Linked DNA regions of Homo sapiens: regions 1, 2 and 4 are each linked to region 3. The links are contacts of gene promoters, found by promoter capture Hi-C in blood cells and fetal thymus (Javierre and others, 2016). All regions are on one chromosome and are shown on one strand. Each heading gives the region's core, a stretch centred on a gene start or on the middle of the fragment in contact. The rest is flanking DNA. Distances are from core to core; before and after follow the strand shown.

Region 1 (6,771 bases), core at 2,348-4,847, 180 kb after region 3:
CATGTACTTTTTTTTCATCAGAGACTATAATATCAGATGATGTTATGACACAGAAAATGAATAATCTCTGTTCTTGCTTAATCTTTAGCCAAAAGCGTTTGAACAATACTTGAATCTGGAAGATGGCAGACTGCTGACTCATCTGAGGATGTGTTCCGCGGCGCCCAAACTTCCTTATGATCTCTGGTTCAAGAGGTGCTTTGCGGGATGTTTGCCTGAATCCAGTTTACAGAGGCAAGTAGGTCTTTCGAAGACATATTGAAGGCTTGGCGTTAGAGCAGAGTTCTGGCCTTTCATGTGGTCATCCCTCAGATTATAAATTTGCTTTAGAACAATACAGTAATTTGAAGCTCAGTCCTCCAGCAGCTACCGTAACAGCACATGATTCTGCTTATTCTTGAATATACAATTAGAAAAATTAAGGGCCCTCAGTGCGTTAGATGCTGTGAAGCAGTCACACCTCAAATGGTCTCCATGAGTTTATATAAGCGTCAGCCCCTTTTTTCCAGAAATGTGACAAATCTTCCTCCAGTAGAAATCTTAGTGTTAGTTTCATCATGATATCTTTAAAGAAGCTGAAAGCAGTCAAAGATTTGACTAAGTTCTTCCAGTCAGTTTCAGACATGTCTGGGTATTTCGGAGTCCAGGTGCCACCCATTAAGACTTTGTGATGTAGTAGAACAGTAACTCTTAAAATAAGTTATGGCACTGAACAGTGCAATACACAGAGAACATTATAAGATAATATGTAACTAAGTGTATGAAGTAGAATACCAACTTTTAGGAGTTACAGGAATGATCAGAATTATTATTTTAGAGTGGTTATAGATCAGTAACTGGCTCCTTACGCCCTTGGAGAAGTTTAAGGAGTCTGTCCCCAGAATCACTGGCAATGAAATTGAATTTATCCCATTTCATATACATCTTTTGTTGTCCCTTAGTAGGCTATAATTATATTAGCATTATGGCATATTAGCAGAATATAAACCATTAGTTTAGGATTTTCTTTTTCTTCCTCAGAAATGTCAGGTTCACAACATGAGGGAATATGATTTTGGTAGATTCCTAGTGGAGCAGTAATTTTTAGTAAACTTTCCTTTCTCCTTCTAGTGCTGATTGTATCTAGAATAGATTTCAAATGGCTTCTGTATTTTGTTGTTGTTTTGGTGATTATTTCATAAAAGTTGTTCTTTGAAGCTTTTACATAAAATTGGAGCAATTTGATTTTATTTTGTAATTTGAGATGTCTAGGCTAAACATAATTCTGAAACTCATATAATTTGATTATATCTCCTTATTTTTGTAGGGTTTGGGATAAAGTTGTGAGTGGATCCTGTAAGATCCTAGTTTTTGTAGCTGTCGAAATTTTATTAACCTTTAAAATAAAAGTTATGGCACTGAACAGTGCAGAGAAGATAACAAAGTTTCTGGAAAATGTAAGTGTGCTTTGATTTGATTTTGAATCTGGAAATGAAGTTACCTTAGCAAGTCAGATTTTCCTGTTACATTAGATTATTTCAGAGAAATAATTACATGATTTTAGAGAAATAATACCTTAGAATGTTTCAGAGAATAATTATAATAATGATTATTTTAGGGAAATTATTTAAGAGAAATAATAATTTGATTTGATTTTGAATCTAGAAATGAAGTCACTTTAGCAAGTGAGATTTTCCTGTTACATTAGATTATTTCAGAGAAATCATACAGTGTATTTTTACATTATAAGAAACACTTTTCCCTGAAAAAGTTTGGCCTAAAGTTGGCCTGAGGGTTAGTTTGCATCCTGTCTTTGGGAAATGATGGTCTGAGACCATCTCGTGAATGTGTCCACTTAGAACCAGAGTCTCATCCTCCATGTGACTATCAGCAGGCATGTCAGGAAAAGGAATAGGTGGGATCTGTCATTTTACAATGAGTAATTTTTGTCAGTTCAAAAGGGGTTCTGTATTTTGGAGGATTTTGTAAGCCATTTCATTTCTGTTACTGTCTCTGGTGTAGTCCCAGTTGGGTTTATTAATATACAGTATTAACCTAGTATATTGCTGAAAAAGGCAATGGTAATGAAATTAACTTTTCCCTCGCTATGTATCTTGGAATACCCTTTACCAGGCAAGAAGTAGGATTAAAGAGACTTATGCCTGAATGATTTTCACAGAATCCAAAATCTATTCATTTTTAAAATAGTATTAACATTTGAAAAATGGCCTGGTAAATTATAATAAAGTACTGAGTCAATATGCGTTGAATAAATGAATAATCATCATTATAACCAGAGGTGGCTAGCAGTGCGAAGCCTGTGCTAAGTATTTTCCATGGGTTACCTCATGTCCTACTGTGAACAGCTCTGTGAAGTCAGGCTATCATTTCCCCCATTTTAGAGATGGGGATCTGAAACCCAGGTAGCTTAGGTAACCTGCCCGGGGGTGCACAGTTAGTGAGCAGTGCAGGATTTGAACCCAGGCAGGCTGACACTGGAGCCCTTTCATGTCCTCAGGTAGCATGTGACGCAAGTCTTTTATGCTGTCACTTTCTGAAAAACAGTGCAAACTCCCATGGAAGTGGATTTCATGCCACAGCGAATGAGGGAAGACACTGAAGTTGTCAACACTGAAATTTCACAAAGACTGATTTGCTTGCCCACAGATTCCCCAGGACAGCTCAGACGCGATCGTGAGCAAGGCCATTGACTTGTGGCACAAACACTGTGGGACCCCGGTCCATTCAAGCTGAACGCACCCGCTGGTTGTGGACCGTCTGCCAGGCACCACAGTGAGCATTGTGTTCTTGGCATGTGATCTGGGAAACTGATTGAATAATACACTTTTCTTGCTTTGGTGCTCAAAGTGGTTTTTTTCCCCCAATAAAATTATTTAATTGAAATGCCTGGTGTTGCTGTGTTGGCGAGCAGCATCTTGCAGTTACATAGAAATGTAAAGTTCATCTCTGAATAGCATTTCAAAAGGGTTGTTAGAAAATAGCTCCCTGATTTTAAAGCGGTTTAGTCAGGGTGAGTGGGTGTGTTAACCAGCAGTGCATAACTAAGCCTGCCCTGCCTGTCTCTAATTAGCACCAAGCTAGTTACTTTCAAGGTCTGTTTCTAGAATAAGAGTGACTTCCTTTTGTTGACACCTCAGATTTGGCTTTTGTTGATGCAATACGTGTTTAAATCCAAGCCAACTGCCTTCTGAGGCTTCATCTTGCTAAACAGGCTTTAAACAATTCCTTACTCTTTTTTCTCTTTGGGCCAGTTGGAATGAAACCATTATTGAACAAAATGTGTTTGAATTGCTCCTAGGAGCAAGTACTTGTTGGATATTTTGCTGCACTCACATTTTTCTTGATGGGGTGTTAAATGTGGGATGTTAGGGTGCACTGTGCCACGCACTAAAGCAGTGAGAGAAATGGCCGGTGAAGGTGAACAGCTCATCACCCCTGGGCCACCTTGTGCCACGTAAATGGCATGGCCACTCTTCACTGGATAGTTCCCGGCTTTGGGAGTAGTGAGTGAAAGGGGACCCTTTGTTTCACACCGGTTTAGCCTTCAGACCTGCAAGAGCCTGAGTGGTGAGTTGGATTTTCCACCCACCCCCTAAAAGACGAGGGCAGCTATGAACTTATAGAGGTACAATTCTGAGAATTCAGGCCCTCCTTAGTGTGTGAAATATCTGTTGAAAAAAAGTTCAGAGAAAGTGTGAGCTGTTGAAATCTGCTGCTTCTGAATACTAACATATCCAAGAGTATTTAATTTTTTAAAATAAAAATGCACTCCAAAGAAAAACCTTTTAAAGCAAAATTGCTGCCTAGAGTTAAAATTTTAATAAAAAATGACTTATTGCCAACCATTTATGCCGGAGCCAGGCAGGAGCGCTGGTACTCTTAGGGAGCAGGAAGGCTTAGGGGCTGAAGTTCCTCTGACTTCGCTGCTTTGGCTGGAGGCCAGCTGATCTGAAACGAAAGACTCTTACTGTACTGCTGAGAGATCTAAAAATAAATATTCTGCAAGTATATTCTGTCAAACCCAGTTTGGTAAAACCTTTCTGGCTGTAGGGTGTGGGGCGGCGATTTTTTCTTGAAGTTAGTCAATCTGAGAGTTTTTATTAAAACACTGATTGGCGGAATGATTTTTTTAAGGCCCATCCTGAGAAAGTGGTGGATGGAGAGGATGAGCATCCAGTTTCGCTTCATAGCAGAATTTCACTTTGCTGAGAGCTGAGTGTTTTGAAAATGTTTGTGCCTGCTGTCTTGGGTGAGGAGCGCAGTTCCTGATAAAAATACATCCATATGCCTTTTCTTCAAAACATTTTGTCAGGATACTGCAGAATTTTTCCTTCATATATTACAACCCACGGTTCCTGTCACAGACTATTGCGGCTAAAATGTGAGATTCTTCCTCGCCCTTGGAAAGCTGGAATTTAACATGATCAAATTTAGTTTCTGCTCTTTCCCGTCTAGAGATTTGCCTTAAACACAGATGAGAGAAGATCTCAGTCCTCTTGGCCAGGAGAAAGGAAGGCCGAGGAAGGTTGGAGAGTGTGTGTGTGTTGGGGGTGTGGCTTTGGCCTGCTGACAAATCGAATGGATGGATTGCGTCGAGGTATAATTGTGTAGAGGATTGTGTGTACACAGGCTTGTGTGTCAAGGCTGTTTCAGGAAATGAGGTCAGGGTTCATGAGAATGAAGCACTTTCTTTGTTAATGGAAAGTTCGCCTGAAAATTATGAGGCAACACTGAAATCATATGATGCGCTGAAGGAGCTCCGAGGACCTTCTTGCACTGTAGCTCTGGGTATGACAGGCACTTGCCCTGTCTTGAATTGCATAAGTTTCCTGTCATGTGGTTATCACGTCCCTATGGTGACTCAAGGTTTTGGTGTTTTCTGTCTGAAAATGAAGAACCTGGAGGGAAGCCAGTGGGGATGAGGAGGGTAAGCAAAGAGCTTAGATGCCCAGGACCAGATCCTAAAATGAGTCACTGGCTCACATGGCCCAAGTGACAGCGCCTGCTCGAGCTCTGTGACCGTAAGCAGCAGAGTGACATCCCAAGTTCTCCAGCCAAGGCAGCCTTTGGGGAGCCTGGTGAGGGGTGTGGGGTGTGGACAGTGAATCTGCCCGGGTCACATAAGGTCAGCAGCCTTTGTCTTTAGCTGGGTGTTTTGGGTCTAGAAGGGCCAGAAGGTGCTTTCCTCTGCCCTTGACAGAGAGGGAAAGGAGTGTGGGAATTTGGGGAGCAGGAGTTGGTGGCATCTCCTCTGTTGGTGAAAACAAAGAGCCGTTTCTCCTTGAGACTGTGTGCCAAATGAAACTGTCCGTGGCTCTTGGCACAAGCCGTGGCTCCTAGATCAGCTGATGTTCCTCCAGAGCTGGCACCAGTTTGAGTAGGAGGGAGGGGTGATGGATGGCGGTGTGGAGAACAGAGGGTGGTAGTGATTTCTGGGGGACCACGGTGGGGGTGCTGGCCTTTCATGGCTTTCCCGACCAGTCGCCCTTTCCACTTTGGTCCCTCTGTCAGCCTTGCCTTGGGGAGGTTAAAAAGTGAGTGGACAGTTTCTAGATGAGGTGATAACTCCCCATAAGGGGAGCCCCCTCCCAGGGGCTGATTTTACTCCAGGACAATGACAAAGGGAGTTGGAGAATGTCATCAGAGAAGGACACACAAGAATCCTAGAAGCTCATCCTAAGCACAACTCCAAATTGAATGTCATAGCAAGCGCTTAAGGTTCACATCTCCAACTCATACCTAATACTGAGGTTTTCCTTTGCAGTTTACCAGGAACTTACATGGCAGGCACTCGGGACTGCCAGAGCTCACGCTAAGCACTGGCTTTATCACAGAGTCACTTCCTGGTCTTCTCCATCATCCTTTCCTAGAGTCTTAATAAGTAGCAAGCTGGTGCTTGCTGGACATTTTAGCATCTCTCTTTTCCCTGCTTCTGCCTGCCCTCTGGACATAATACTAAGAAGATTTGAGAGGGGGGCAGCAAAGAGGAGAAGCTTTGGAAGATTCACTCCTAAACATCAGGTGGCTGCACGCTATACCGCAGTGGGCCTGCATTCCCACCTCCCGTTTCTCCCTCCTCTGACCGATATGTTTGGTTCATTTGTCTTTTTATTTGTTTTCATTCAATCACAAAATATATGTGAATACAGTCTTAATTATGGGCCAGGTACTGAGCTTAATTGCTGAACAAGACATGGTATCTGCCCTCTCGGAGTGTACAAGCATGCAGGGAAGACATATTTAACAGATAGATGTTTTGTTCCAGACATCTTTAGTAGAAACTCTCAACTCCTGTGCTGCCACACCAGGGAGAAGGTGGACTGAGTCTGTCCAGAAGCTCCAGAGGAAGGGTAGAATTGCTGTGAGATGTGTGATTCTGTGTCCCCTTCACTTAGTAATGGAAGAGGTGACAGGAAGAGCCTTGGACCGGGCAGGGGGCATGAGCATCTGCCCCACTCACTAGTTTTGCAAACCAAGCCAATCACTCAGTCTGTGTCTTGGTTTCCCCATCATCAAACAGTGATTCTGTGACATCCCTCCCTCCCCAGCGTGCTTGTGAGCATCACATGAGTTGGCTGTGAAAGCACTTTTAGAAGCATGGAACTCTGGATATTTAATATTTTCAAGAGCATCATTTGCAAGAGTGTGGCTAGGCACTGTCTCTGTTTGAATCTACCGTATGCTTGGAGGCCTAACTCAGCTCTGCCTTCTCTGAAAATTTGTTAACTGCCAAGCTCAAAGTGCATTTTCCTAACTCTGAGCTTCTGTAAC
Region 2 (6,780 bases), core at 2,202-4,701, 130 kb before region 3:
TGGAGTAGCTGGGAATACAGGTGCACACCAGCACGCCCAGCTTACTTTTTTTATTTTGTGTAGAGACTGGGTTTTACCATGTTGCCTAGGCTGGTCTTGAAATTCTGGACTCAAGCAATCCACCTGCTTCAGCCTCCCAAAACGCTGGGATTACAAGTGTAAGCAAACATGCCCGGCCCAAAATTGGTTTTTCCACAGAGACGACAATCTGAAATTACTACTAATTAAAATATTTTCCCGGCCGGGCGCGGTGGCTCACGCCTGTAATCCCAGCACTTTGGGAGGCCGAGGCGGGTGGATCATGAGGTCAGGAGATCGAGACCATCCTGGCTAACAAGGTGAAACCCCGTCTCTACTAAAAATACAAAAAATTAGCCGGGCGCGGTGGCGGGCGCCTGTAGTCCCAGCTACTCGGGAGGCTGAGGCAGGAGAATGGCGTGAACCCGGGAAGCGGAGCTTGCAGTGAGCCGAGATTGCGCCACTGCAGTCCGCAGTCCGGCCTGGGCGACAGAGCGAGACTCCGTCTCAAAAAAATAAAAAAATAAAAATAAAATAAAATAAAATAAAATATTTTCCCATGTTAGCCAATACTTTAACTCTCTTAAAGGTCTCCTTTACATCCCAAATGAAACAAAAGACTCATTACCTGACAGACTGTACTTTTTGTACTTTAACTTTCTTGGAGTCATTTCCTTTTTCACAGTCTTCATTTTTCTTTTGCAAATTAACTAAAAAATAGAGTTACATTTTCTAATTAGCATTCACGTAAAAATAAATCAGGAAATTTACTGGAGTTCACTTTAAGCATCCACTACACACCAATGTGGATGCAGTTTTTATTTGTATGAAATACAGGGAATAGGCCCCAGCTAACCTTGGCCAGGCCCATGCTGGCTTTCTAAGGGCCATTCATATTTGACTGGAAACATCTGCAAGTGCACTTGACACTTACATGAGAAGTTAGTTAAATTAGAATAGTCATACCTTCTTTCACCTTTCCTGGCGATTTCTTGATGCTAAGGAAAAAAAACAAAACCACTGACTGCAATGGCAGTAAAGATTACTCAAAACATGTTATATTATTTCATTTGCCTTTACAAGTAAGACACCCCCTTTCATTACCAACACCCTCAATTTCTACTCAGGAGCTCTCATCAGTTTGGAAAGCAATAGTCACTCCCTAGTACACTGCCACCAACTCTCAAGCATTGGAAGATCTTCACAGTTAAAATCTGAGAGCCTATTAGCAGGCTTTCAAAGCAGCAAAATGCTGTGGGCAATGGAGTTCAAGTGAAACACTTGTTCAGAACAAGTTATAAAGTATTTGAAATATGAAGTGAATGGGAGTAGGTCTGCCTCATTTCATTTGGAGAAATCACAAAGGATTAATTTAATAGTTTAGGCACAGGAGACAGGGAACAGCCTCAAGGGGGCTGTGGCCCAATGGAGAGAGAAATGTAAATGGACAGAATACAATACAGAAGCATTTGCACAGGAGAAAGGCCACACAAAAGCGGAAGTGATGGGAGGTGGGGGGGGGCAAATGAGAAGGTAAAGGTGACACTTGAGCTTGGTTTTAAAAGATGAAAGGGAATTTGCCACCAAATAGATTTGCTCTTACGTTTAATGTATTCAGGATCTGAGTAACTCTTTGGTAAAGTTTTTTTACTGAAAACTTGAGAGTCACTGGCCTAAGCAAAAGGGGGCTGAATTTCTGAATTTAAAGCCTTAAGGGGAGAAAAAGAGGATAGAAAAAAAAAAATTTAGAAGGCTAAATTTAGTAGGGTTTGATCAATTCCCAAAGACGACTATAGCTTTTCGCTTTAAACCATAAAACACCAAAGATGCTAAATGAAGTGGGGAACAGGAAGGACAGGTTGGTGGCAGGTAAGGCAAGTATGGGACAAATCAAGTTTTCAGAGCCTGTGGATAAGTGCCTGCTACCCCACTAAATGATTCAAAACACTTTTTATTCACCACCACCCACTATGCCCTAGTACAATGACAGGCAGTCAACAAAATGTACTGAATGAACACAATGGGATCAGGAATTCAAAAGCTAGCTATGGGAATGAACAAAAATAAATGGTAAAATAAGAAGTAGAACGTTACCTCCGTCTTTCCCATCAAATTCATATACCAAGGTAGCTTTTGAATTTGGGTTCTACAATTCCTTCAGTTATATGGATTCAAATAAATGTACCAGTATATAATTCAAAGATGGGTGTATATAAGCAAGTAATATAAAAAGATCCATTACTTACTTAGTCTGTGAAGCTGTGGTTAACTTCTCCAAAATAGTGTCTGGAAGGAGTTTTCTTTTCTTTTGGAATGAAAACGTTTAAAATTAATAGAAAGTCATGTACATAGTATGTCCGGAGTTGCTTCTGAAGTTACCGCTTTTAAGAATGCCCTACATCTAGGCAAAGAAATGAATTAGGCTGGAAACTGCCCCCATACCTCTAAGCTATGGGAAGACCGGGTCCACAAAACTCCACATTCTCTGAAAGACTTGATGAAAACTAGAAAGGGTGCCCACGGTATTCTAACCCTCAGGTCACTGTTATAAATTGAAAGCAGTTAAGTAATGTCTGCCTGGAGCCAGCTCTCTGTGTCGAGTATCAGACAGCAAAGCAACCATACACTAAGTCTGTACAGCCCTTACAGTTTACAAATCACCTCATTTAATTCTCACAGCAACCTCTTATTTTCAGTTGGTGGACACTAAAGGAGACGAACTTTTTTTTTTTGAGACAGGGTCTCGCTCTGTCGCCCAGGCTGGAGCGCAGTGGTGTGATCTCGGCTCCAGGCAGCCTCGACATCCCGGGCTCCGCCCACCTCGTCCAACTAAAGTACTGCCGCGCCCGGCCCGAGCATCTTTCCACCACTGTCAGAGGCAATCTTGGTGACTGTTTCCCCACTCCAATATCCTGCCAACCCAAATTACATCCACCATAGGAATTCTCCCTGAGCCGAGTTGTTTTAATAAGACACCTCCTCCCTAGCCTCTAACCTTCTGTTCGATGAACAGCTCCTCGCGTCGCTTCCTCTTCTCCTTCAGGAGCGTTTTATCCCTGGGAGGAAGGGTGATAAGTCAGCAAAGGGAAGGACAAGCGGGACGAGAAAGGGCGGTTCTCCCCGCCGGGCAGCGGGCTCCGAACCTGCGCACGGTCTCCCGCACTCGCCGCTCCTCTTCTCTCGCTTCCGCCTGGGCGCTGGCGAAAGTCAGCTCCTCCGGGGCCTCATCGTCAAACTCATCGTCCCCTTCCTCGTCTTCCTCCAGGGGCTCGGCGGCCGCGCCGCTGCTGGGCTGCCCGAGCAACAGCCCGTGCTCCGCCTCCTCCTCCTCCGAGGCCAGCTGGCCCTCGTCCACCATCGCCTCCGCCGACGCCGGGGCGCGAGACGCTCGCGGTCGGAGCTGCACCATGGCCCACGCAGCGCTAGACCGTCTGACCTCTGACCCGGAAGCAGCTACAAGCGGAGCGCAAGCCTACTTTCATCGCCCCCTGCAGGTTCGGAGGTCCTCAGGACGGGTGGGGCGCATGCGCGAAGGGAGGAAGGGCGTGGCCTGTAGGCAGTGGGCGTGTTTCTTTCCACGTGGCCAGCGCAGGCCGCCTTGGAGCCGGATGGACCCCACGGAAAATGCTCTGCCGGCGAAAGCGGCTGGCAATGGGGTTGATTTCAAGGCAGGGAAGAGCCATCGCGCTGCCCTCCTCGGCTGGGATGGCGAGACAGGGCTGGCACGGCTCACGCTGTCCGGTGCTCAGAAAACCGGTAATCGCGGGCCCGAGGCGCTGCTCGCCGCCGTTTTTTGGCCCTGGGTTCCGTCGAGTGGATCCAGCTTGTCAGTCTTTGTGTAGATTTGGCTGCGTTCGCTCCGCACTTCGGAGGAGGTGGCGTTTCATGGGAAGAAATGCGCTCTAGCAGATGGCCGCCGTGGCCAGTCAGCCCTGCTGCCACCGACGAAGACGCGGGCGACAGACCTGGACTCTAAAGAAATCTGCACAGACGTGCCCGGCGCCCTCGGCCTTCCCAGCTCCGCGGCCGCAGCGACGCCGGTTAGGATGTCGGCCCTGTGGGAGGGGCGCCCTTCCTGGTGCCGGGCCCTAACCCACGACCTGGAACAGCAGCTGGCCCGTGGCAAATGCTGAGCATATCTCCTGAAAGAATGGCTTCGCCGGTCCCTAGAGAATGCACCCGAGTTTTGTGGTATATACACATACGTACTTTTTTTCCAAGTATATTTTATTTCTTGGCAAACATGGCCCTTTGTGATCGCTGTGTTTCTCTCCTCCCATCCATTATACAACACTAAGTGATTCATCATTCTTTGAACAAATCAAACTGTTTCACACCTGCCATGCATTTGTACCGACCGTGCTCTTCCCTCTACTGCCGCAGCCCCCCAGGTAGAAGTCCTTTTTATACTTCAAAAATTCCCACCCAGGCAAATTTCAAGCACCTTACCCCTACCCCATCCCACTCTGCCCATCTCTAATTGCGCTGGTCTGAACCCGCACAAATGTCTGTGTAGTTTCTGCACTTCATAACAGCTTATATGACAGTTGCTCCAGCCATTCTGTGAACCCCTGAGGGGAAGGGCCAGGTCTTGCTAGTCATTTTATTTCTAATGTCTATCATCTGGTAGATGTTTAATAAATGCTAAGTTGAATAATTCTATCTTACACATATATTGTATTTTTAATTCTCTTTTCATGTCTTCTGTTTTAGAAGCAATTCTCAATTTAAAAACGACAAAACCAAATAGGAACAAAAATGATAAAACTTGAAAACAACAACAACAAAAAAAGCTGCTGAACCAGAGGTTCAGTATGAGAGGAATTGCAAAGAACAGTTTTGAAATCTCTAGGCCTTAGTCAGATAGAAATTACAAATCAAAAATATAATCAGACTCCCTGAGACACTAACACTAGGAAAATGAATAAAGTTAACTTGGAGCAGCCCAAGAACAAACTTATAAGTGCATGATGGTATTTTATGTGCAAAACTGCTTTATAAGTACTATAAGACTATTACAGGTATTACCAGTGCCCTCAGTGTAAACTCCTTGGCCCACCCATGTAAAGTGTACATCGAGCCCTCAGGGTCCCTGACTGGTTCTCCAGCCGCCCCATAGGCTATGAGCATCCCCGTTCCCTACACAAAGGACCACTGGGATTTATTAAAGGTTATGCCTTGCAATGCAGTACAAAGTTTTATATGATAGTGTCTTGTTGCCTGTTTCTACAAAAGCCAAGGGTGTAACATTAAATGCAATTTTGCAAGGGGCTGAGGTGATGTGGTCCAAGTATGTAATCACTTCAGGGAGCCATATGTGACCTTCATACACTGTTGATAATGGCCATGCCTCCCAGTCAGGCCTGTGACACCTGCTGGACAGCAGGCATTCCAAGGCCCCTAAGCACTGAGTTAGCTGGTAAAGGTTAAGGAAAAAGCTGTATTCTTACTACTTTACTCCAAGGTAGTAAAGTGTATGGAAGATGTACCTGACAGAAATAACTTAAGCATCCCCTGAGAATGACCCTGTATGGCAGATGCATCTGACAGCAATAACTTAAGAAGTGAGGGTTGCCACGTGGAGGCTGCTGAGGGGAGGGTGCTGAGTGAAAGTGCTATGTAAACTGCATGCTTTTTATAAGTGGTTGCAGTTCTGTCCAGCCCGCGGCCACTGGACCACCCTGTAAGGTTCCCCAAATAAACCCTATGTTTCCTTCACTAGCTCCAGGTCTCTTCTTTGGCCTCTTGAACCTGGTGCCATCCCTACTGAAGTTAACAGAGGTCTGGCCCAACCTAAGGGCATCATTTTTTAAAGTCCCATGGAAAAAACTCCCAGCAGAGTTCAGCATCTGGGAACGGTTGGCAGGCCCCACAGGAACCACAGCTTCTGCCTTTATGATGCTGAGAAACACTTCACTGTTGACTTCCCCCATCTAAGGGGGCCAGAGCTAAATTTTGGGCAGCTGTGTTTATCCTGGGGGTCCACATATTTGCATCATTCTTTCTTCTCATCGTGATGTTCTACCTTGTTGGTACTGTTCTCTTCCTTCTTTGTGTGAGTTCCTGTTGTGAGCTTCCCCTTGTTCACTGAGGTAATGTAGCCAAACAAGGTTAAAAAGCCCCCAGTAAGCCGGGTGCGGTGGCTCATGCCCGTAATCTCAGCACTTTGGGAGGCCGAGGCGGGCAGATCACCTGAGGTCGAGAGTTTAAGACCAGCCTGACCAACATGGAGAAACCCCGTCTCTACTAAAAATACAAAATTAGCTGGGTGTGGTGGTACATACCTGTAATCCCAGCTACTCATGAGGCTGAGGCAGGAGAATCTCTTGAACCCGGGAGGCGGAGGTTGCTGTGAGCTGAGATCGCACCACTGCACTCCAGCCTGGGCAACAAGAGTGAAACTCTGTCTCAAAAAAAAAAAAAAAAAGTCCCTAATAAAGCCATATCGTGGGGTAATGTCTTTATACAATAAATTACCTACTGTAGAGTGTGATTTTATTTTCCACTAAAACTTGTGCAAAAATCAGAATAGTAGGGTTTTTACCCCTTGACTTCTACTTTGCCCAGATAACAAAAATATAATCAGAATAACTATTTTTTTTAGACAATCTAATTTACAAAATTTTTCCCTCCCAATAACCAACCATACACATCAAAGATACCTCACGTTTCAGTTCAAACCAAATAATATGAATTAACTTTCCAGTTCTGTGACTTTTGAATGTGGGTGCTCTTTGCTACTTCTAAACCCCCATCACTTAT
Region 3 (7,201 bases), core at 1,343-3,842:
GACGTGCCTTTCACTTTTTAGTCCCCTCTCCCGGCACCAAATGGGTGCGAAGCGGGCATTCGATGAATATGCATACATTTATTTAGCAAATGTTTATTGAGCGCCTACTACATACAGGGCAAGGCAGTGTGCCAGGTGCCAAGGATATGGCGGAAAACCAGACAGACGCAGAGTCCCCATGGCTCCAGAGGTGCGGGGCCAGCCTTGGCCAGTCCTCCTCAGTGCCCCCTCGAGGGCCTGGGAAGGGTGCAGGGTGGTGGAGGTGGGGGCAAGCTGGGAGAAGTAAAGGCTGCGGTAAGTGGCGACGGCAACAGGAGCCGAAGCAAGAGGCGGGCGTGGCATGTGGCCAGGGCGACGTATCCGTCTCGAAACTAGACACGAGACGCACGTGCCGCAGCGGCCTCGGAGACCCCCTGCCCCGCTGCGGCCGTACACACCACAGCGTCTACGCGGGGGCGGGCATGGGCCTAGGGGCGGGGGAGGTGGGAGGCAGATGGGAGCCCGCCAAGACTGGACTGTCTTGGAAGAAGGCGGCTGAACCGTGCGTGCGCGGCCGGAGCGGGGGCGCGCGATTGGAGCAGGCTAGCTTGGAAGGAGACCGTAGAAGTCTGCGGTTCCGTGCCCAGACTCTGGGGCCTGGATTCCAATCGCAGGCCTGTTGCTTATATATGTCACCTTGCGCAAGTCCCTTAGCCTTCATTGCGGCTCATTCACATCACTGGTAAAATGGGTTTACAATAACCTTAGGTTGCTGCGAGGACTAAAAGGGACAATACCTGGAAAGGCGTTAGTATGATGCTCAGCACGCAAGAAACGCTCCGGGAGCCGAGGTTATTATTATCGGCTGTTCGCACCTCGCCGGGTCCCCTCACCTACCCCAGGCCAAGGCGCCCACTGCTCTCTTCCAAGGGACAGGCGACTAACCTATTAGGGCGCGTCCTGCCTAGATAGATGTATTTGCTTGGTTGGGGCGGGGTTTGGAGTGAAGCAGGGAAGAGAAGGAGATGGTGAGGGCAAAGAAAGGGAAGAAGCGGAGGGGCAGGAGGCGGGCGAGGCGGCCTGGGCGGGGCCGGGGAGGAGCCGGGCTGGGCTCCCGGGGCCCGGGCGCAGCGCGCACCCGGAGCTGGCGGCGGCGGGGGCGGGGGCGGCGCGCGGCGGCCAATGGCGCGCGGCGCTGCAGCGAGGGCGGTGCAGGAACACCGGCCGCTGACAGCCAAACTCGCCAACTCCGCCCTCGTCCCCGCGGGATCCCAGAGCCTGAGCCGGCCTGGGGCCGAGGCCGCCCGAGCCGCGAGGCGAGCGAACATGGCAGCAGAATGAGGAGGCTGGCGCCGGGTCGTGGCCGCCGCTGCCGCGCTGCAGCTCGGGATCCCAGTCCGGCGCGCTCCGGGCCGCATCCTTAGCCGGCCTCCTGGCGGCCGCGGGATTATTTCATTCCCAACGGAGAGCTAGGAAGAAAGGAGACTCCCCCGCGGAGCGGTTCCGTGCTCTGGCAGGGTGTAGACGTTTGTCTGTGCGATTCGCCGGCTGCGCAAACGACGCGGGAGAGAGCCGGTCCCGGGCTGCGGCGGCGCGGCCGCGGGGATGAGCCGGCCATGGAGCGGCCTTGGCGGGGCGCACGCAGCGGACTGGCGCTGCCGCGGGAGCGCAGCCTGAGCCGGGGCTCCAGGGGGCTTCGAAGCCTCCGGCGCCCTGGGGGGGTCCCTGCCGCCGACTCCGGGAAGGACGCGAGCCCCGCGTGGCGGACACTGCCGCAGTCACCGTTCTGAGGCGCCCCGAGCTTGCTCCGCCTGCAGCTCGGTGCGCTCTGGGCACCCGGGCGCCTTGCCCGGTGCACGGCGGCTGGCGCACCGCGGCTAGATTGGCTACAGGAGCGGGGTGCAGGACTGGCTAGAGGTGGGTGTGTGCGCGCGTTGGACTGGAGATCCGAGCAGAAGCAGAACCAGGCGGCTCTGAGCAGCCATGCTTCCCGGGGTGGGCGTGTTCGGCACCAGCCTCACGGCCCGTGTCATCATCCCGCTGCTGAAAGACGAGGGCTTCGCGGTGAAGGCGCTGTGGGGCCGCACGCAGGAAGAAGCGGAGGAGCTGGCCAAGGAGATGAGTGTCCCCTTCTACACTAGCCGCATTGATGAGGTGCTGCTGCATCAGGACGTGGACTTGGTGTGCATTAACCTGCCGCCGCCCCTCACCAGACAGATCGCTGTCAAAACCCTAGGTGAGCGACCCCTACCCCGCATCCTCCGTCCCACCCCCGCCCTTTAACCTTCTCTAGGTTCCTTCCCCCCTGCCTTTCCCTCTCCGCATCCCAGAAGCTTACCCTGCATCTACGCTGCCCCGGGGATCTGAGATCCCAGATCCGACTCAGAGCTCCCTCCTTCCTCGTCCCCGGCCTTCCCCACCTTTGCGCTTCCCTCCTGCCTCCTGGCACCACTTGGACGCGCTTCCCCACGTGTGTAGATTGCAGGCTGGAGAAGGCGTGTGTTCCGGGGATCCGAACTAGGAAGATCAGATGCCGATAATAGGGGATAGGGTGCTCCGCGAGAAGAGGAAAGTTACTCCTCAGCTGTGTGTGTAGTGTCCAAGTGTGTGTGTGTGGGGGGGGGGGATGGGGGGGTGGAGGAGGGTTGTGCGCGCGCGCGCCTGGGAGAGGCGAGTGCGCGCCCAGAAACGCCTGAATAAAAGGCCGCACACGTGTGTCGGGTTTTCTTGGGTGCGATAGAGGACCTGCCCTTCAGCAGCGGTGGCGCCCTGCTAGGGTCGTTTGTTTCTTTCTGCTGTGAGTTAGTTTAGCGTGAGATTGCAGATGTTACCATCGGCTGGAATTATTTCGTCTGCGCTGGAGGCAAGGACGGTGGGAGTGGTTGGATGGGGGTGATGATGTATTAGAATGTTTTCAGAGGCGTCATAGGTTAGTAAAGACTGATTTGGTAAAACCAGGGGGTTTTAACTTTTGACTGCAGCCTCCCGGGAAATGTCTTCTGCCCCAATTTGGAGTAATAGATTTTAAATTTTTAGGAGGATGGGCGCAGTAGCTCCAGAGGCATGGATGCTTTGCATGAGAAAAGGCCCTCCCTAATCGCCTTCAGGAATAGTTTCGGAAGGCACAGTGTTGACCCGTGGGCTGGAGATGAGTTCAGGGTGCCTCACCATCTGGTCCCTGCTCCCCTCAACTCCCAGGCAGTCTGAACAATCTCTGAGGACAGAGTAGCAGCCTCTCAGCCTATGCTCAGGGGAAAGAGAAGGGCATGTTTTGTTCATCATCAGTTCTTGCACGTAACCTAAAACAATCCCAGGAAGGTTGCTTGATCTTACAATTCCAAGAAAATGAGCAGCTCACCTTTGAAAGCTGAAGTTTCTATTGGTGAGGAAAAACACAAAGCTTATAACAAGAACAAAGCTTATAACCAGATGAAGCGAATAGTAGAACAGATTAGAAGGGAGGAGCTGCGAAGGAACAGAGACAACATCCAGAAACCAGCCGGAAGTTATGTAGTCTTGGAAAGACTGTTTTATTTGTTAAAAATAGGTATGGATTCAGGGTAGGTGAAATATACGTGTGTTTTAATTCTGTCTTCGAAGAGCTATGAACAGAATGTAAAACTCTTTCTCCATAGAAAGGCATTTTCATCAGGCCATTTGGCTATTGACTCAGATGCAACATCTGATAGAATTCCTAAGGAGGCTGCCCACATTGTCAGTTTTAATTGTCAGTTAATTTTATTAAGTGTCTGCCCTTTGTGGCCTGTTTCTTTGGCCTTGAACTGAATGCCATTGAACTGAATGCTAATATTTATTTTCTGTTTAATGGAACATGTATGTTGGGTGGATAACTCCCTTGTTTACATTGGCTCTTTGCATATCAAATATCTTATAACGATCTTATGGTATAATTCTATTAGTGCAATTTGTACAAAACTGGTCCCTGATGAGCCCTGCGTATACTGGAGAGCTTAGGACTGGTCATATCTGAAAGACCATGTTGTTAACATCGTTTCTCCACCATAAAGATGGCAGTTCCTGTCCTGGGTTCAGACCCACAGAGCAAACCTAGAGCAGGAGGGTGGCAATTTGGGGAACAAGGATGACCTTGTTTTCTGGCTGTCTCTGGGACCATGGCCATGAAAGTGTCTGGGGGCTCTGGTTTCAAGAGATGTGACACAAATTAGACATTTCTGGATACTTCTTCTGTTCTTATTTTTCAAATATCCCTGTGACTTTAATTAACAAGACATGTCTGTTACCTCTTCAAAACCAGCGATAAGAGGCATAATAGACCTAGTTTAGTAATGGTGATGACAGAATAGGGTTTTGTTCATGTTTTTAGGGTAGGTTTTGAGCTTCTTTCTTCTTTCTTTTTTTAACTCCTTCTTTTGCAGGGTGCCCCTGCGAGTGCACAGTGGGGTGGTCGTCTTGGTTTGCTTTACAGTCACTGTTGAAGGTTCAACACATAGAACGTAGGAAGTGAAAAACCCCAAACAGTTATCAGGCTGATCTGGCTGTTGGGAGTGTATAGATACGAGTGTTTGCCTGGAATTGAAACTAGCTACTTTGACTCATCCTGGTAAATTGTCCTTTTAGCAAAGGCCTGGACTTTGAATTGCTTGCCCAGTGAGGGTGACAGGTCTGTAGCCTTCGATCCACACTCATAACTGGTCACAGGCCTGTCAAAGTAAGGGGCTAGGGACCCTACTTTGTAGGGACCCTACAAAGTGTGGTCTAGGGACCACAGTGAAATGAAACTTCAGATCAATTGAATCACACACATCCTCCTTTAATTTTTAAAAATTTCCTCAAAATCCCTACCTTTGTGAATGAGGCATTCCTCTGTTGTAGAGGCATTTCTACCAAGTGTACTTTCTACACTGTCCAAGGCTGCCTCTTATTAAGTACATACTGTATGCCAGGCAGCATGGTAAGTGCTGTGTATAAAGCATTTCATTTCATGACTAAAATAATCCTCTAAGATAGATATTAGCTCCATTTCACAAATGAAGCAACTGAGATTCAGAGACCTGAGTCACTTTGCTCCTAGACCTACAGCTAGAGATTTGAACCCAGCACTCTACCTCCCCCGGAGTCATTTCTTCCTCTTCCATCAGCTGTACCTGTTCCTCTGCCATAGATCATGGCAGCCCAGGTCAGACTGTTGGAGTTGTCCTTTATTCCATCCCAGCCCTGGAATCGGTTCCCAAACCTGTTTGATGCCATCTGAAACTCTCTGTGTCTGTTCCCCATAGAAGTCAGGTCCTTTCGTAGTTTCTGAACTAGGTTCCAGTCCACCCCACCCAACCCTGCCTCTAGCCACTATCTACACTGCTGCCAGGTATGGAGTATCTGGCAGTGCTAGAGACCTGGTCATGTCATCGTTTCCCCTTTCAGGAAAAGCCCCAGCTGATTGGCGTGACATGCCCAGCCTCACATCCTGAAGAAGTGAGCCCAGCCTCACGTCCTGGTGGCCATTCCCGAACCCAAGGGCTTCAGCGAGCCCACCCTGCTGGGGTTTCCTTGAATGGGCCCTGTTGGCGCACATGTCCAGGTCTCTGTCAGGAACTTCCTTGTCCCTTGAGGTCTCCTTCCATGTTCGCCCTTCAATACTCAGCCCAAGTGTTACCGCTTCCTCTCCCTCAAACCCCCCACCCTACATACCCTTCTGTTGTCTCAGCACTGTGTGCCCCCATCTTGCCTAGCACCTATTTTAAGGCATTCATTTAACATTTAAATTTTATTTAGTTATTTTGAATTGGCTATATATTCATGTGGTACAAATTTCAAATGCTATAAAAGTACACAGTGAAGACTGAATGTCCCCTAGTCCCTGTCTTTGGACAGGAGGCAATCATTATTACCAGTTGTTTATGTCTCCCATTCAAGGCCATATATATATGTATATATAACACATAATATATACATATATTTTACATATACACTAATATATAGATGTATATATAACATAAAATATATGCATATATTTTACATAGAGATACACAAATATGTGAAACTCTGAATGTGAAAGTATTAAAAATAATATATATTTTTCAAGGTATATCCTGGCAAGTATATGTATGGGAATTTAATTTAATTTAATCTAATTTTATTTTATTTTTTGAGACGGAGCCTCGCTCTGTTGCCCAGGCTGGGGTGCAATGGTGCGATCTTGGCTCACTGCAACCTCCACCTCCTGGGTTCAAGTGATTCTCCTGCTTCAGCCTCCTGAGTAGCTGGGATTATAGGTGTGTGCCACCACACCCAGCTGATTTTTGTATTTTTTAGTAGAGATGGGGTTTCCCTATGTTGGCCAGGCTGGTCTCAAACTCTTGACCTCAGGTGATCCATCTGTGTTGGCCTCCCAAAGTGCTGGGATTACAGGTGTGAGCCACTACGCCTGGCCTGTGTGGGAATTTTAAAAACCTTTTACACAGTTGGTAGCATGCCATTCATTCTTATGGACCTTACTTTTGTCATGCAACAATATTAGCTTGAAAATTTATATATGTTAAAATTTAAATATTATTTTAAAAATATATTAAATGTATTAAATTTATTACATAAATTTTATATAGTAATATAATCAATGTTAAGCAATATAAATATTAATATAAATTATATTTAATCAGTTAATATGCATTATTAAATTTATGTATATTTATATCTTTACATATACAGCATATACATATACACATTTGTATATATACATATATTAACATATTTATAGATATACATGTATGCACATTTTTATATATATTACAATATATAACATATAATATATACATATATTTTACATATACACAAATATATGAAACTCTGAATGTGAAAGTATTATTGCTCCTATTTTTGGCTACCTAGTATTTCATTGTATGGATACATCAAAATTTATTTAAGCAGTTCCCTGTTACTCAACATTTAGGTTGTTTCCAATTTTGGCTTATACAACCATGTAATGAATAATCTTGAGCATATGTCATTTTGCACACATGCCAGCTTGTTTGTGGGATAGATATGTAAATTGCTGGTCAGAGAGTACATGCTGATTACATTTAACAAAGATATTGCCTAATTAACTGGCACCTAAAATGACACTGTATTTTTTGTTAATTTCCTTGTTGCCTCTCCCAGCAAGCGTCTTGACGGTCAGGACGCAGACAAGGCAAAGAAGCCTCACTCACCTTTGTGTCCCCAAGCCAGCCTGCCTGGGTCCAGTCTT
Region 4 (6,676 bases), core at 2,598-5,097, 230 kb after region 3:
TTTACCATTCACTGGGAGATTTGTCTTTGATCAGAGACAAATTCACAAACCCAAAGCATAAAGCTCCAGCTTTGGAATTCTAGTCATCAAAATTTTCGGGGGACACCCAGGGCATCTTGCCATCTTCACCAAGCAAAGCAGCCATCTGCTTGGCTCATTTTATGATCGATGTACCTGGTGCATCTCTTAAGTACTGGTTAACATAGAAAGCTGAGCAGCAGAGCACGACGACGTGGTCACCTGTATGAATCATCCCAAGGAGCTGCTAACTCCAAGAATCAAAGTCAAGATGCCTCCTGAATATACTGTATCTCCTTTGCTCCCACCTTGCCAGTAGATTTAACTAGTTGTATCTGATTAAAACTAACATTAAATTAAACAAAATTCCTGACTGTATATCTAAACGTGATCACTTTGCTAGGTGTCAAAGGCAATGATTTTTGGAGATAAATTTTTACATAAAATGAATCATCCAAAATTAAATGTTTAATGTACTTTCAAGGGATCTTAAGTAGCTTTGCTACTATATATGTGACCCTGGTTTATAAAATATGTCTGAGCAGCAAAATGGTTTCCATGCCTCAAATGGTTTTTTCTTTACCATGGACTATGGCTAAATGATTCAGTGAACTGAAAAAATCTCTGGGTTCCTGTTTAAATGCCACATGCTATCAAGTGCTGTATGTGAGCCTTCTATTTTCTTTAAAAATTTAAGAATGGATCTTGCCTTTTTTTTTTTTTCAGTCTGAACAATGCTGTCTCTACTGGTGACCATAAGAAATAATCAAATAAATTGAAGTTTTCTTTTTGCATGGAAAGACTGAAAAAAAAAAAAAAAAAAAAAAACACTAAAAGCCCAAAATAAAGGACACTTCAGTTTTGACCTTGGAAAAAGAAGACTGGTAGAGAATGTAGTGGCAAGATGCTTTAAATGTATGCAGAGCAGGCAGCATTGTCTTTGCACATTACAGCATCTCCCTAGAGAAGTGACAAAACCCTTGTAGGTTTTGTTGGTCTGACTTGTTGAGGCTGACAGAGATTAGTTGTGCTGCACAGAGCTAATGGGCTTTCTGCCGTTTCCAGAACACCAAGGTCACAGCTTTCATTAGCATTTACAACTGCTTATTGTTTTGAGGGCCTTGATTTTAAAGTCTGGATCTCTGAAACTGTATCTGCATTTCAGGACAAAGGAAAAACAGAATTAACTTGGGTTTTCTGCAACTCAGCACCAGAGAAAGGTAACTGCATTTTCAGACAGATGGAAAGAGGAAATGCAAAAGTCCTCACAGAGAATGACAGAAAATAAGATCCTCTCTCCAAAAGTAGGAGGAGATGGGGTTTTCTAACAGGTATCCAGAAGTGTAGATGGGCTTGGTGGGATCAGGGGAAAGGGAGAAGCACTGAATTCTATCCCCTCTACATCCTTTGGAAACTTCCTCCTGAGAACCTATGAGTTCCATGAGGATTGGGGCATTTCTGTCTGGCCTTGGTTATTACTACATCCCCAGTTCCTAAGAGAGCATAGAGAGCATAATAGATGCTCATTTAGTAACTATTTAACCCAGATCCCACCAGTTCAGATGCCACACATGCTCCTTGGATGATCTCATCAACACTCATGACTTCCAATAGCATCAATATGCTGATGATTCCAAAATCTAAACCTCCAGTCATATTTTTGAGTTCCTGGCCACCTTTCTAACTGCTGTCTTGTACTCCTATGGGCCATCAGACTTAAAGGGTCCCAAATGAATTAACTCATCTTCTTCCCCCATACATCTTCCTCTCCAAGTGGTCTTGTATGGAGTCCTAGTGAGATGCCCAGGCCATGAAACTGGGAATCATCCTGTCTGAACTTCACTCTTGATGGCCAATCAACCACCAAGAGTCCTATATCCAAACCATCTCTGATTCCATCTACCACCACCTTGGGGAAGCAGTCCATCAGCATCTCTCCCAGTTGCTGCCAGCCTATCCCACTCTGGTCCTCCTCCAGCCCATACAGAATGATCTTTCTAAGGGACCGATCTGATCACACCACTCTGTGCTTGAAAAGTAAGTATGCCTTTACAGTGCTCACAGGACAGAGTCAAAACACTCAGTGTTCTGAAAGATTCTTCATGATCTGGCTACCTGCCTGTCAAGAATCTGCCCATTCTGTCCTTCACCCAGAATGATCTCTTCTTGGTTCCTTCCAGATTTGCATGCCCTTCCTCATAGCCTTACCATTCTTTTCCTTCCTCTTTGTCTGTCTAACTGACAATAATCCCTAACGTTACAGCTTAAAGCTTCAGTATCACTTCCTCTGTCTGCAAATCTCTTGGTTTAGGTGTCCTACAGTGTGCAACAATATTCCTGCATGTTCCATACCCCAGTGCTTGTTTTACTTTCTTTTATTGCCTGTCCTATTCACCAGACAACAAGGCTTACACTCTGTGAGGCCAGGGCCACCTCTGCCTCACTTAGACAACCAGGGATAGCTTCCTGTCCATAGAATCTGAGCAGGTGCACAGAACACCCTCCTACTCCACCCCTGCACAGAAGGGCTTCCTGCTTGGGGTTTAATGCTCTGTTGCCATTTCAAACTTTTCAATATTTTTTTATCTTTTGAACAAGGAACCTCTCACTTGTTCACCATGACATCTGCAGAGCCTAGCACAGAGTCTGGTAACTGGAGATGCTTAATGTTTGTGAAATAATTAAATGGATGCTACTTGGTGACTTTTCCTTACCTTTAACCTTTACCTCTTTCTTGGTTCTTTCCTTAGGGCAAACAACTGTATTCTCCATTAGAAATAAAACTCTTTAAAACAACAACAAACGAACAAAGCTGTCCTCCTACGCCAGCCTCTTCCTCCAGCTCACCCCTCTCACCTGTCTGCTCTTGGCTGCCAGACCTCTCGAAAGGGTGGTCCAGGCTCGAGGTCTCAGTAACTCTCCAGTCTGGCTTCTGTTCACACAGCTTTACTGTGCTGGTTCTCAGCATGGGTGATTTTGCCTCCTAGGATGCATTTGGTAATGTCTGAAGTTATTTTTGGTTGTTGCGATTGAGAGGGTGCTGTTGGCATCCGGTAGATAGAGGCCAGGGTGCTAAACATCTTCCAATGCATGGGACAGCCCCCACCACAAAGATCATTCAGTCCAAAGCATCAACAGTGCTTAGGTTGAGAAGCCTTGCTCTACTGAATCAATTCTTGATAAGGTCATCGATGATTCAATTGTCTAATCCAGTGGCCTTTTGGAGCCCTTATTTTACTAAACCTTTCTCTATTATATGATACCTTTGACTAATAGTCTCATATTTCTCTCTTAATATTTCCTAATTCCTGCTACTCAGCAGATCTCAGGTGTGATAAAAGCCCAGGGGTGCCCTATCCTTCAGAGTGGCTTTGGGCAGTATGATGCATGCCAGTCACCAGCTTGGGTCAGCCTGCTGTTTAACAAGTGTGAGATCTTGAATGAGACGGCATTCCTCTCTAAGCCTCAGCTTTTTCATCTCTGTGCGATGGAACAAAGAGAATACTTTAACTGCCAGTCCTGGTCAAAATTCTTAGTATTTTAGTGCTAAGAAGGGGCAGAGGAGAAGTTGGGAGGCGGGGAGGACATAGCTTGGTTGTTTTACTCCTCTGCTACCAGCCTTCCACCGCCTGACATTGCGCTAAGAATAATGCTTGAATTCACTCCACACCACAGCCTGGCCACAATGCCTCATTTACCTTCACTCCCTTATTCACAGTAGGACAACCCAGTAGCACATTCACAGTTTAGGGAAGCTGAGATGCCTCCTCTGATTCTACCAGGCAGAGGTAGTAGTTCTGTCTATGGAGTTCCCCATCTTGACGATGGCCTTATCCATTACATTGGTGATACCTGCGTACATGAAGATCTTCTCAGTTGGACGATGAATGCTCCAAAACCACCAATTACATCTTATTTATCTCTGTGTTCTTAGTACTTAGTACAGCAGCTGGCACATAATAGGGGCTCATTTGATTTTTTATGTTAAACAAATTAATAATCTCTCGCCCCTGGAGTTGTGCCCATGGGATGAATGAGAATGCTGGGCGTATGGGAAGGCATTCCTGCCACAGAAGAGGGGCTGCTGGGAGGGCTGAACAGCAGTTTTGCTTTTATTCCTCAGTACTATGCCCTTTTCTCTCTGCAAACTGAGCAGAACAACTCTTAATACTATTGATCCGCACGCCCAGCTCTTCCCAGGCATTTCCATCAATGATTTTCAAATTTCTGTCATTCCCCTTAAGCTAAGAACAGTTAGCCTGGCTAGAGGAGAGAGCACAGAGGGGGGAAGATGAACTGGGGCCCTGAGGCCCGCATCCTGGCCTGCCTGCACCACTCATCAGAAGGTCCCTTGAGCACATGACATCTCCTTACCCCTCCATGCCCAATTTCACTATATGACAAATGGTCATAATGACATCTAGCCCGCCTGCTGTGTAGGACTGTCAGGAGGATCAAAGGAGAATTAGATGTGAAAGTCCCTTTTAAAAATAAGTACAAAGCATGAAATACTATTTTTGGTAACTTGAAAAAAATCCCTTACCTGAAATAGATAAACAGGTTACGCTTAAAAGAATATTTTTGGCTTTATTCTCTGGAGGCTATGACCCCAGTGCAATGGCCTGTGGCTAAGATGAGACACTGAGATAATAACCCAAAAAAGTATTGTAATATTGCTGGTCATGTTGAGTGGAAATCACTTTTGGAGTAATGATGGGACTGTGTGTATTACTAGGCATCAAATCCATTGAAAAACAAAACAGTGAGACGGTTGAGAGCCTGCACAGTGAACATTTTCAGTATTATTAGGATTATTGGACATAAACCCCATGTCAGGATGATTCCACTTTGAAAGAGTATCTGAGTTGTTATAACAGAAATTAAGGTAGTTAATTACAACAGAAATTAAGACAGTCATTTCAACAAGGCTATTTTTACAAGAAGAATCCATCAAAATGAGTGCCAAAACATTGTGATGCCAAAAAGCTAGGAAATACAGAATAAAAGACAAATGTCCAGTGCTCCACCACTTTAAAGTGACTCAGGAGATTTGGTCACCTTTAGCTTAACTCCTCCAACCATCCCTGCGTGTATTATGTGCCAGAAATTGGGCTAGGCTTTCAGTTAGAGCTATATATAAAAACAACATCAGCAAGAATGACCACGCACAGATGATTTAAAAAGCTCTGCCATCAAATATAGACCATGTTTTATCTTTTGCTATTAGCTTCTCCTCACACCTTAAAAACTAAAATTTAGCCTTTGCTTTTCCCTGCTCCTTTCCAATAAAGAGCTCTACCAGGTACCTTTGGCAAAAAATGAACCTTCTTTCTAGGAGCACAAAGCATTTTTTAAGTAACCCTCTGTCAGAGTCTTCAAGAAGCTTAACATGATCTGATCAAAGGAAAAGACTGAGATTGAGGCAAAACTGGTGCAGGGCCACCACTGCCAATCATCACCCTTCACGAGACTAGTGGGAACAAAAACCACACTGAACTTATAACTTCAAGCCCATTGCTGGTCCTCTTGCTACAGCATTTTGTCTCTTTTCCTGATCTCTGCCGCTTGCCATGGTTTCTATGTCAGTGGTTCTCATTCCCGTAGCACCTTAGAATAACCTGTGTTACCTTAAACCTGGGCCACATTCTTAACCAATTAAATCAGAATGTATGAAAGTAGAGCTTAAGCACTGTTTTTTTTTTTTCTTTTTTTAAGACGGTGTCTCTCTCTGTCGCCGAGGCTGGAGTGCAGTGGCGCGATCTCAGCTCACTACAACCTCCGCCTCCCAGGTTCAAGCAATCCTCCTGCCTCCCCCCTAGAAGCTGGAATTACAGGCACGCGCCACCATGCCCAGCTAATTTTTGTATTTTTAGTAGAGACGGGGTTTCATCATGTTGGCCAGGCTGGTCTCGAACTCCTGACCTCAGGTGATCCATCCACCTCGGGCTTCCAAAGTGCTAGGATTACAGGCATGAGCCACTGCTCCCAGCCTGTTGTATTTTTTTGTTTGTTTGTTTAAGCTTTGCAGGTAATTCAAACCTGCACTGAGGATTGTGAAGAATCCCAGGTCAGTGCTTCTCACAGCGTGGTCCCCAGCGTCAGCATCACCTGGGTGCTCTCTAACCTGCAAACCACTGGGCTCCGGAGCTACTGAATCAGAAGGTCTGAGAGTGGGGCACAGCCATCTGTGCTGGTTTTACAAGCTCTCTCCAGGAGATGCACGTGCATGCTAAAGTTTGAGAACAACAGCTCTAGATGCTGTCATAAAAGGTTGAAGGAGGCTGCTTCAATAGGTGGGTGGACATGCAAGCAGGTAAGGTTAGAGAGATGTGAAGATGTGGAGACAGCCTGCATATGACTCTACTGACAAGACAGAGGTCACTGAGCAATAAGGAAAGAAATAGCATGCGCAAAGTGTCAGCCTCCATCTACAAGGGAAAACGTGAGATTTGTGTTCTATCCTGTGGAAGTAAGAAGATCCCAGAGGAGTCAAGAGCTGTGATTTAGACCAATGGGTTTAACCTTTATTTATTTTATTTTATTTCCATTTTACTTAATTCAATATGATTTAAGATATATCTGATGAACGTTTTCCAGATAAGGTGCTGGATGGGTGGGAATTAGAAAGATGATTATGATGTATAATAAAACTCTATGA

What was found. Contacts are between HindIII fragments. The CHiCAGO score rates a contact against its expected background, and 5 or more counts as called.
Region 1: a contact is called between a fragment that was not itself captured here and the fragment with the promoter of GFOD1-AS1 in region 3, in 1 of 17 cell types (monocytes). The highest score is 5.0, in monocytes.
Region 2: a contact is called between the fragment with the promoter of NOL7 here and the fragment with the promoter of GFOD1-AS1 in region 3, in 15 of 17 cell types (activated CD4 T cells, erythroblasts, neutrophils and 12 more). The highest score is 15.9, in activated CD4 T cells.
Region 4: a fragment that was not itself captured here is called in contact with the fragment with the promoter of GFOD1-AS1 in region 3 in 3 of 17 cell types (naive B cells, total B cells and monocytes); the score reaches 5.6 in naive B cells.

The regions. Positions count from the first base shown.
Region 1 is chr6:13,301,063-13,307,833 of GRCh38, reverse strand. It overlaps TBC1D7-LOC100130357 (TBC1D7-LOC100130357 readthrough), which reads left to right. Exons shown (of 9, transcript NM_001318809.2): 6 at 89-234; 7 at 1,307-1,436; 8 at 2,647-2,772. The coding sequence ends at 2,733. It overlaps TBC1D7 (TBC1 domain family member 7), which reads left to right. Exons shown (of 8, transcript NM_016495.6): 6 at 89-234; 7 at 1,307-1,436; 8 at 2,647-2,883. The coding sequence ends at 2,733. Among named protein-coding and RNA genes, the nearest start is that of TBC1D7, 24 kb to the left of the region's middle. RefSeq lists enhancers at 1-593, 4,684-4,733. The HindIII fragment of the contact is 4,796 bases long and covers 1,200-5,995 here.
Region 2 is chr6:13,612,006-13,618,785 of GRCh38, reverse strand. NOL7 (nucleolar protein 7) reads right to left here and starts at 3,451. Exons shown (of 8, transcript NM_016167.5): 1 at 3,162-3,451; 2 at 3,014-3,074; 3 at 2,265-2,323; 4 at 985-1,016; 5 at 647-728. The coding sequence starts at 3,427. It overlaps SIRT5 (sirtuin 5), which reads right to left. Exons shown (of 10, transcript NM_012241.5): 10 at 3,628-6,780. LOC124901263 (a long non-coding RNA gene) reads left to right here and starts at 3,584. Exons shown (of 2, transcript XR_007059461.1): 1 at 3,584-6,780. RefSeq lists an enhancer at 4,069-4,238. The HindIII fragment of the contact is 25,604 bases long and covers 1-6,780 here.
Region 3 is chr6:13,481,652-13,488,852 of GRCh38, reverse strand. GFOD1-AS1 (GFOD1 antisense RNA 1) reads right to left here and starts at 2,592. Exons shown (of 2, transcript NR_046709.1): 1 at 2,400-2,592; 2 at 2,082-2,172. GFOD1 (Gfo/Idh/MocA-like oxidoreductase domain containing 1) reads left to right here and starts at 1,253. Exons shown (of 2, transcript NM_018988.4): 1 at 1,253-2,215. The coding sequence starts at 1,963. RefSeq lists enhancers at 202-331, 1,892-2,001, 4,637-4,706 and silencers at 392-501, 882-1,261, 1,282-1,761, 1,902-2,065. The HindIII fragment of the contact is 1,067 bases long and covers 2,315-3,381 here.
Region 4 is chr6:13,257,409-13,264,084 of GRCh38, reverse strand. The region is part of intron 10 of PHACTR1 (phosphatase and actin regulator 1); the gene reads right to left. Among named protein-coding and RNA genes, the nearest start is that of TBC1D7, 68 kb to the left of the region's middle. RefSeq lists enhancers at 5,422-5,922, 5,923-6,423. The HindIII fragment of the contact is 3,113 bases long and covers 2,291-5,403 here.